3 separate regions of the Homo sapiens genome follow, and all the other regions are linked to region 1. Evidence: promoter capture Hi-C in 16 types of primary human blood cells and fetal thymus (Javierre and others, 2016). All regions are on one chromosome and are shown on one strand. The core of a region is centred on a gene start or on the middle of the fragment in contact, and the rest is flanking DNA. Distances in the headings are between cores, read along the strand shown. Region 1 holds the start of WNT16 (Wnt family member 16). Region 2 has its middle 170 kb from the start of FAM3C. Region 3 overlaps CPED1 (cadherin like and PC-esterase domain containing 1).

Region 1 (3,221 bases), core at 501-3,000:
TTCTTTCTGTCTCTTTTTTTTTTTTTTTTTTTTTTCTCTCTACGGGGACCAGGGCTCCTTCGGAAGGGCGTGCCGGCCAGAACGCCGCGGGGGAGGTGCGCGGCTCGGCGGGGGTGCGCGCAGGGACTGCGTGGACAAGGGTCAAAGGCGGAGGGGGAACGGAAATGAACATGAAAAACGACAGCGCATCCTTCAGCGCCCCAGTCCTAACATTCTTTGGATCTGTTGATATTCCAGGAACAATCCTGGCTCCCTGTACCTTTATCCTTACCAAGTCACTACGCACGTGGAAGTGGAACTTTGTTTTCCTGCAGCTTCCCGCGCCGCGGGAGTGCGCCGAGGAGGGAAAGATAGAAAAGCCAAAGAAACGAGAAGCGCACAAGTGGTCCTGCTCAGGTTAGCCGCACGTTGGGTGGTCGCGGACAGTCGCTTTAAAAGTCACCATTATTCTGTCAACTCGGTGCTCCTAGGAGCCAATAAAGGTGGGGCTTCGCTGCAATTAGCCACTTGTCCGGGGTTTGGTGCGCAGCGGAGTTGGTTAAATCAAAGCAGATGCGGCAGCCGCATTCCCCGCTGCCGACATCATGTTTCTCCAGCTGGTCACCCACGTAGGGGGGCGCTACGGGGTCCGAGGGGGTCGGCGGGGTAGGAGAATTAGAGTTTTTTTTCCAACTCTGGCGGGGCACCGCAGGAAAGAGGAAGAGCTCCAGCCCCTAGAGCTCCGCTCTGGAACTGGGGAGTCACCTCCCTCCAGGCTCGCACCTGCTCCCCAGGTCTGGCCTTTGTAGCTCTCAATCCCCGTGCACTAAAGGGCTTCTTCTGGAACTTAGAGAGCTACAGGACCACGTAGCACTATTTACTTTATTTGCAGGAACCGGTGGAGGAGTTGTCGCCTTCCGTCCCCCACCAACCCCTAAGGACCCAGGACTCACCGCTGCTCAGCTCGTAGCCAAAGAGGGGGCTGGCGCCCATCGGGGCGGTAGTGGCGGCGGCGGTGATCATGCAGTTCCATCTCTCGTGTCTGAACTGGCTCCCGCACTCCTGAATGCCCAGCCGGGCGCCCTCTCGGATGCTCGGCAGCAGGTACGGTTTCCTCTTGCACAGCTCCTTCTGGCGGCTGTTCAGCGGCAAATTGGCGCAGCCCAGCTTCTCTGGAACCCCGAAGGAGGCAATGCCCAACCACCTGTAAGACACGGCCGCCCGTAGCGTTAAGCCGCTCCCCAATTCCAGATGTTTTCCGAAAAATTAGGTCACTCGTCTAAGGGTCCCCGCCCTTCTCCCCCAGCCTCAGTTGAAAGTTCCCTAGGATTGGGCACCCCTTTTGCCACCTACCCGATGCTTCCCTGCCACCTCCATACTCACATCCAGTTTCCTTGGGCTCCGTAGGGGAACAGCACGAGCAGGGCTGCCCACAGCGCGCACAAGCGGGCCAGTCCCAGGAGCGCCGCCCTGTCCATCGCCCCCGCATGGAGTCCCCCAGCCCAGCCGCTCCTCTTTTGCACCCCCTCCCCAGAGGCCCTTCGGGCCGCAGGTCAGTTGTCCAGCACCAAGTTATCCCTCGCCCTCTTCCTCCTTGCATACAACATTAAAAGGCCAGCAGTGATAGGGACTCTCAGCAGCTTCCCCCTCGTTTGCAGGGAGCTGTAGGAGAGATGGAGAGAGCAGCCTGGGGATCTCCTCCTGCGCAGGGGTGGAGATGTGCAGGAGATGCGGGAGCGCCCCTCGCATTCCTAGGTGAGAAACTTCTGTTGATGTATCCGCGTCTCCATCGCCCCCGGCCTCTCCTCCCATCTCCTCCCCCTGGCCGCGCCTGGAGCCTGATTGGCTGAGCAGCGGCCCCGCATCTCATCATCTCGGGACCTCAGGCTCTTATTGGTGGAGAGCGGCTCCGCGGGGGGCGCTCCGGGCACTGGCCTCAGGGACAGCGTGTCCAGACCTGGGTGTGTCATGACCTTTCCTGCTGTCACAGTCTCCTTAGAACGGGTCGTTGTGGGGTTGATTCAACCCGAAGACTAACAGGACGCTCTGTCTTAGCAACCTTGGGGGAAAGCGTGGGTTTGATGAGTCCCACCCATCCCACCAACATCTGGGTTACCCTCTGGGTGTAGTGGCTGGAAAATGTCACTGACCTTTTTTTCTTCTCCTTCACCTCACAGGAGAATAATCTTTTTGAGTCAGAGTTGGTACCGAACAAATTAACCTTCCAGTCCCCTGCTTGAGGTCCCACTGTCAGGAGACTTTAGAGAGTGGGTGAAGTGCTGTCAGGCTTACAATCACTGTCATTTATGTATGCATTTATTTTGAGCGAAAGAGAAGATTCCAGTCTAGCATCTCATCTGCCATATTTCAATCGTGCTCTGTGATTTCCTTTTCCCTATTTGTCTTATTTCCTGCAGTCCCTGAGAACGCTGTAAGTCCCCTGCAGAAGATGGGGACAAAGAAAGTGAGAGGTTTCTGGAGAGTTCTAGAGTACATGAGAGATGTGCTCTGATCTTTTTCTCCAGTCCTACCTTACGATTCTCATGGTGGGAGGGTCCCTGCCCTTCTCCCCCAACCTCAGTTGAAAGTTCGCTAGGATTGGGCACCCCTTTGCCACCTACCCGATGCGTCCCTGCAGGACAGGGCTACACATGGAAGACACATTTTTAAAAACGTACTTATTAAATACCTGCTGTGTGCCTAGTCCTGTGGGAATTTATAAAGACAAGCTCTCTTCCCACAACTGTACAAATAAACCATACACAAGTGTAAAAGAAAATACGTTTAGATGATCAGTAAGAGAGATTAAAGAATCTAGCAGGGTACTCCCTGGAGCCGAAGATAGTTCAGAAGCAGGAAGTGTTCCAGTTACTGGCAGATTTGGAAGGTTAGTTAATCAGTGTTTTGTAGGATGGAAGGTCTCCGAGAGTTATCTGAAGGCAAGTGCAACGTGTTTAGCTGTGGTATTGGGAAAGCCTGCCTCACCTAATTAGACACAAGAAATGTTTCTAAGAAGCATTATCTGTCCTTAGAGATCTTTTGAAGTGTTAATACATTCCCATGGTGGACGTATCAGCTCAGTGGGTACCCAAAGCCAAAATTACTTAAATAAAGGATTTGGGGCCAGGTGCAGTGGCTCACACCTGTAATCCCAGCACTTTTGGAGGCCAAGATGGGCGGATCACCAGAGGTCAGGAGTTCAAGACCAGCATGGCCAACATGGTGAAACCCTGTCCCTGCTA
Region 2 (3,221 bases), core at 449-2,948, 230 kb before region 1:
CCCTCCCTTCCCTACACATCAAGCTCGAGGATTTGCCCCCACCCAGGACTGGCAAATTAGATTTACTCAACATGCCCCGAGTCAGAAAACTAAAATACCTCTTAGTCTAGGTAGACACTTTCACTGGATAGGTAGAGGCCTTTCCTACAGGGTCTGAGAAGGCCACCGCAGTCATTTCTTCCCTTCTGTCAGACATAATTCCTCAGTTTAGCCTTCCCACCTCTATGTAGTTTGATAACAGACCAGCTTTTATCAGTCAAATCAGCCAAGCAGTTTTTCAAGCTCTTAGGATTCAGTGAAACCTTTATATCCCTTATGGTCCTCCATCTTCAGGAAATGTAGAACGGACTAAAAGTCTTTTAAAAACACACATCACCAAGCTCAGCCACCAACTTAAAAAGGACTGAACAATACTTTTACCACTTTCCCTTCTCAGAATTCAGGCCTGTCCTCGGAATGCTACAAGGTACAGCCCATTTGAGCTCCTGTATTGACGCTCCTTTTTATTAGGCCCCAGTCTCATTCCAGACACCAGACCAACTTAGACTGTGCCCCAAAAAACTTGTCATCCCTACTATCTTCTGTCTAGTCATACTCCTATTCGCCGTTCTCAACTACTCATACATGCCCTGCTCTTGTTTACACTGCCAGTTTACACTGTTTCTCCAAGCCACCACAGCTGATATCTCCTGGTGCTATCCCCAAACTGCCACTCTTAACTCTTGAAGTAAATAAATAATCTTTGCTGGCAGGACTATGCTGAATCTCCTTAGGCACCCTCTAATCAGATGTCCTAGGTCCTCCCAATTCTTAGACCTTTTATACCTGTTTTTCTCCTTCTCTTATTCCATTTAGTTTTTCAATTCATATAAAACCATATCCAGGCCATCACCAATAATTCTACAAGACAAATATTTCTTCTAACAACCCCACAATATCACCCCTTACCACAAAATCTTCCTTCAGCTTAATTGCTCCCACTCTAGGTTCCCACGCCACCCCTAATCCCGCCCGAAGCAGCCCTGAGAAACATCGCCCATTATCTCTCCATACCACCCCCAAAAATTTTCACTGTCCCAACACTTTACCACTATTTCATTTTATTTTTCTTATTAATATAAGAAGACAGGAATGTCAGGCCTCTGAGCCCAAGCTAAGCCATCATATCCCCTGTGACCTGCATGTACACATCCAGACGGCCAGTTCCTGCCTTAACTGATGACATTCCACCACAAAAGAAATGAAAATGGCCTGTTCCTGCCTTAACTGATGACATTGTCTTGTGAAATTCCTTCTCCTGGCTCATCCTGGCTCAAAAGCTCCCCCACTGAGTACCTTGTGACCCCCATTCCTGCCCGCCAGAGAAAAACCCCCTTTTTCCTTTACCTACCCAAATCCTATAAAACAGCCCCACCCCATCTCCCTTCACTGACTCTCTTTTCGTTCTCAGCCTGCCTGTACCCAGGTGATTAAAAGCTTTTATTGCTCACACAAAGCCTGTTTGGTGGTCTCTTCACATGGACACGCATGAAAATATGGATCTGAGGAAACATGGGTCTAAGGTGTACCAGCTTATCAGCATTGTTTTTGGTAAATGGTGAGATTGATGGTTTGCACCTGTTGTTATTGAGATCCCTAAAGGCTCTGTTACTGATTAGATTGCAAAAAGATGCCTATGTGACCAGTATGATATAAAAAGGTCAGCCCAGACTCCTGGTTCCTGGATGTTAGATGTACATATCAGTCATTCCTGACTGGAGAGAAAAAGTGCATTCTAGCACAGGCCTGCAGAGGGAGGACAATTGGAACCAGCTTCTCCACTTTTTGGAAAGCAGCCTTTGGCTGGGATATATAGATTACTTTAATGCCATTGCTCTATTGTATCTCTTCCCAGCAATAAACCATAAATCCACAAGCTTTGACGTTTTTGGACATATTTTGGACCTATATTAGCCAAATACCTTCTCTCTGCTACTATTTGTGTCATTGGGCTTCACAAGATCATCCCAGCTAATAAAATACATAAATATCTAGCAAACACACACGAACGATACCTGAAAATTTATAGATGTTATCAATGTGTAGAAATAGATCATCACTGGTTATTTTAAAATGCTATTGTGCTTAAAACATCATCTTATTCATGACACATATTTTGAATTTAGTAATGTGTGAAAGTCATTATAAGGATTCCATGGAAAAAGTAGCCCACCATATCAAATAGAGTAAGGCATGATATTCAAAAGTCAACATCAGAAGAGTTAAAGACCTAACTGGGAAAGTAAAGACTGAAATGAAATTAAGGAAAATGTAAGAGATTATCTTTATAAGCCTACGAGTACAGAAGGGCTTCTGAAACAGGAGGCCCAAAATCAAAACAATAACGTGAAAAGGTGGCATACTCAATTACATCAAAATTAAGGTTGAACAAGATTAGTAGAAAATATAGAGCCTAAACAAGTCAAAAGATTTTATTTCTATATGAATAGAAACTCAGGTAGATCATTTAGAAAAAGAAGGAAAACCAGAGAGACTGAAACCCACTGGTAATCAGATTAATGAAAACTGAAATGATGACATACCATTTTGTATTTCTCAGATTGGCAAAACATAGACTACAAAAACACCAAATGTTGAGAACTATGTGGATAAATGAGGAGCCACTGCATTGCTAAGGGTCACATACTCTGGCAACAATTTCAGGAATGGTAACAATTTCATGAATAGTAACCTGATAGTACTCAGAGAATTTATGATCCAAAAAGATCATTCCTGCATTTATATTGCAGAGAAACTCACATGTATGTCCATAAGGGTAGTGAGCAAGGATAATCATCATTTTGCTTGCATAGTCAAGAGTTTGAGGCAACAGTGGCGTCTATCTACAGGGCATCTTATAATAAAATGTGGTAGATACACACAATGGAATACTATGTAGCAACTAGAAACAATGAATGAGATATACATATACCAACATAAATAGATCTTAAAACACATGGAGTTAAAATATGCAAAAAATAGAATTCAGTCTATGGTACAAAGCCATCGATGCAAATAAAAAAGCAAACATGCACTTCAAGAACATACAAGTATATGATATATCAGACATGTGGAGAAGGGAAGTGGGACAGGGGATGAAGAGATGGGGAAAAGTAAAACAAAAAGAGCCAAGTAAGGACATATATTGGAAGTATGAGATAAACTGAGTAGTATACATTTAA
Region 3 (3,221 bases), core at 322-2,821, 190 kb after region 1:
TGTAAATTAAGACCTTGTGGAAAGGATTCTTATAAATTACCAACATACTTTTCTGCAATTATCTGTAGGATTCATCCCACAAGAATTTTCTAATACTTTTCTTGATATTACAGTAACATTTTCCTGACGTAATCTATTCTTTAAGGTAATGGCATGATAATTAACTTGTTTCTGATCAATACAACATTGGAGAAACGTGTCATGGAAGAAAGGAATATATAACTTTCCCACCAATCTTTTTTCCTAATTTATTGAGGTATAATTTATATGCAGTATACATAATTTATATATATATATACACAAATACACATGTATAGTTGATATATTGTATAATTTTAAACAGTAGATTGCAAAAATCTTAAATGCAGTTAATTAAATTTGTATCTATCTATATAGCACCTAGTTATATATGTAACCAGCACCCAGATTAAGATATAGGACATTTGCCCAAAAAATTCCCTCATGCTTAGTTGTACCTACACCTTCTAGTAACTGCTATTCTGACTTCTATAAACATAGATTAGTTTTGCTTATTCTTGAACTTCATATAAGTGAAATACAGTATTTCTTTATATATCTGGCTTCTTTTAATTTTTTTTGTTTTTAATTGTTGTGGATACATAATAGTTGTATATATTTATGGGATACATGTGATATTTTGATATAAGTATACAATGTGTAATGATCAAATCAGGGTAATTGGGATATCTATCACACCTCAAGTATGTGTCATTTCTTTGTGTTAGGAACATTCCAATTCCACTCTTCTAGTTGTTTTGAAATATGCCATGAATTACTGCTAACTACAGTTGCCCTGTTATACTATTGAACATTAGACCTTATTCCTTCTATTGGTGTTTTTGTGCCCATTAACAACCACTCTTCATCCCAGCCTCTCCACTGCCCTACTCAGACTATGGTTAACCAGCATTCTACTCTTTATCTCCATGATATCCACTTGTCTTTGGCTCCCACATATGACTGAGAACATGTGATATTTGTCTTTTTGTTCCTGACTTATTTCACTTAATATCTTCCAGTTCCATCCATGCTGTTGCAAATGGCAGGATATCATTTTTATGGCTGAGTAATACACCATTGTATATATGTACCACATTTTCTTTATCCATTCATCCATTGATGGACACTTAGGTTGATTCCATATCTTGGCTATTGTGAATAATGCTGCAACAAACATGGGAATGCAGATAGCTTTTCAATATACTGATTTCCTTTATTTCAGAAATATACTCAGCAGTGGGATTGCTGGATTACACAGTAGTTGTATTTTTAGTTTTTTGAGAAACCTCGATACTGTTCTCCACAGTGGCTGTACTAGTTTACTTTCCCACAAACAGAGTACAAGGGTTCTCTTTTCTCCACATCCTTGCTAGCATTCATTATTGATGTCTGGCTTGTTTTTATGAATGTAAGGTTTTGAAGATTGTTTCATATTTGTGTGTATCCATACTTCATTTATTTTTAATGCCCCAATAGTATAATATTGGATTTGTTTCCTTTCTTACTGAATTTTTTTCAACTTTTAGCTACTATGAATAAAACCAATACGAAGATTTTGTGTGTGTGTGTCTTTTTATGGGCATATGACTTCATTTATCTTAGGTGTATAGCTAGAAGGACTGCTGAATCATTTATACATATTTAGCTTTAGTGGATACTGCCAAAGTTCTCCAAAGTGGTCAAACATTTCACACTTCTCCCAGCAATGTATGAAAAAAATGCTCCACCAAAAAGGGTAAGAATATTTAGTTTAGAAATAATTATACACACAAATATACACAAATATACAAAAGCACACCTCCCTCTAAGTTTTTGTTTATTTTTTTAAACATTTTTGGTGTGGCTATATTATTTGTTCTTCAATTCAGAAGCAAGTTGAGACAGCAATCCAAATAAAGCAAATTGAAAGGTCAAAACCTAAGAGGAACATATTTTAAAGTCTTCTCCATAGTGTAGACCAGTGTTTCCTCAAATCTGTCCCACAAAAATATCAATAGCTATTCTATTAAAACCATATCAAATAAGTTTGGAAATGAAACACACTATATATTTTCCGTACTATAAATGAACCACCATTTAAATTACTATATTAGAGGTTCAGGGAAGTCCTATAGTAAAGACATCTACTTAACTTTGTTTAGCTTATTGCTTCATCAACCAATGGGTTTATTTGACCATGGAACTGTATTCTACTCTTTTTTAAGTGTGCTTATTAATATCTTTGAGAATAACATATTTGTCTTTCTTTGAATGAATCTTCAGACTAATGTGAAATTCCATTTGATTTAGTGGTAATTCCTAAATTAGTGATATGTTTTCCTCAAAAAATAAAAATTATACCAATCCCTGAGATTTTTAAAGCTCTTGGAAACAGATAAGACAGTGGCGGGGTGATTACTGTGCCTGGCTGTTACATTTATAAAAAACATGGTAACCATGCTACCTATCAAGGCCCAGTCAGCAATACCTCTCTTTTACTAACCAGCTATTCTTCAAAGCTCCCAGTAATATATAATGTGACATGATATATTTGCAAGTATACTTTCTGAGTGAATTAATAGATATGTGATAAAAATACCAATTACTACTTCCCTGGAATCACCTGTAGCAAGGGGTATATGATATGAGGAACTGTACAAAGTTATACATGGGATCCTTAAAAGAGCAAAAATAGGGAAAAACCGTAGAACAAAAGTGTTAGGGTAACATTCATCCTTCTCCAAAATGAACAAGGTTACAAAATGGTATGTGTTGCTCACAAGAGAAACTACAGCCTTGCAAAATGATTACTGTATGAGAAGTGAATGAGAAATTTAACTATCCCAAGCAAATTTAGTTTCATTTATCCAGTATCCGTCTTGTAAAATAGCTTCATAAATTTTCCTCTTATTCTTCAAAGTAAATTCTACTAAATCTAGTTTAACATTTCAAAAGTAGATCCAGGGACAAATCCAAGAAAAATAGCCCAATTTAAAAGGAAAATGTGAAACCGATTTCACAACTAAGTGTGAGTCCTCAGACATTTTTTTTGAACATTAACCACAATAAGTCCACTGAAAACAATGAGCACAGACAGTAGCCATCACACTAAAAAGAAAATCACTCACAACGAGGTGACTTAGATACCTGGCTGGGATTCTCACTTTTTTGAAATGAGACCACAGTTTCGATTTCAAGGCATACAATTTCTTGTAATAATT

Evidence for each region. Contacts are between HindIII fragments. The CHiCAGO score rates a contact against its expected background, and 5 or more counts as called.
Region 2: a fragment that was not itself captured here is called in contact with the fragment with the promoter of WNT16 in region 1 in 6 of 17 cell types (non-activated CD4 T cells, naive CD4 T cells, activated CD4 T cells and 3 more); the score reaches 7.2 in non-activated CD4 T cells.
Region 3: a contact is called between a fragment that was not itself captured here and the fragment with the promoter of WNT16 in region 1, in 2 of 17 cell types (total B cells and naive B cells). The highest score is 15.6, in total B cells.

Annotation. Positions count from the first base shown.
Region 1 is chr7:121,327,529-121,330,749 of GRCh38, reverse strand. WNT16 (Wnt family member 16) reads right to left here and starts at 1,750. Exons shown (of 4, transcript NM_057168.2): 1 at 1,363-1,750; 2 at 933-1,183. The coding sequence starts at 1,457. The HindIII fragment of the contact is 8,913 bases long and covers 1-3,221 here.
Region 2 is chr7:121,561,959-121,565,179 of GRCh38, reverse strand. No RefSeq gene overlaps it. Among named protein-coding and RNA genes, the nearest start is that of FAM3C, 170 kb to the right of the region's middle. The HindIII fragment of the contact is 440 bases long and covers 1,479-1,918 here.
Region 3 is chr7:121,142,217-121,145,437 of GRCh38, reverse strand. The region is part of intron 16 of CPED1 (cadherin like and PC-esterase domain containing 1); the gene reads right to left. LOC124901735 (a long non-coding RNA gene) reads left to right here. Exons shown (of 3, transcript XR_007060494.1): 3 at 1-1,574. Among named protein-coding and RNA genes, the nearest start is that of CPED1, 160 kb to the right of the region's middle. The HindIII fragment of the contact is 7,707 bases long and covers 1-3,221 here.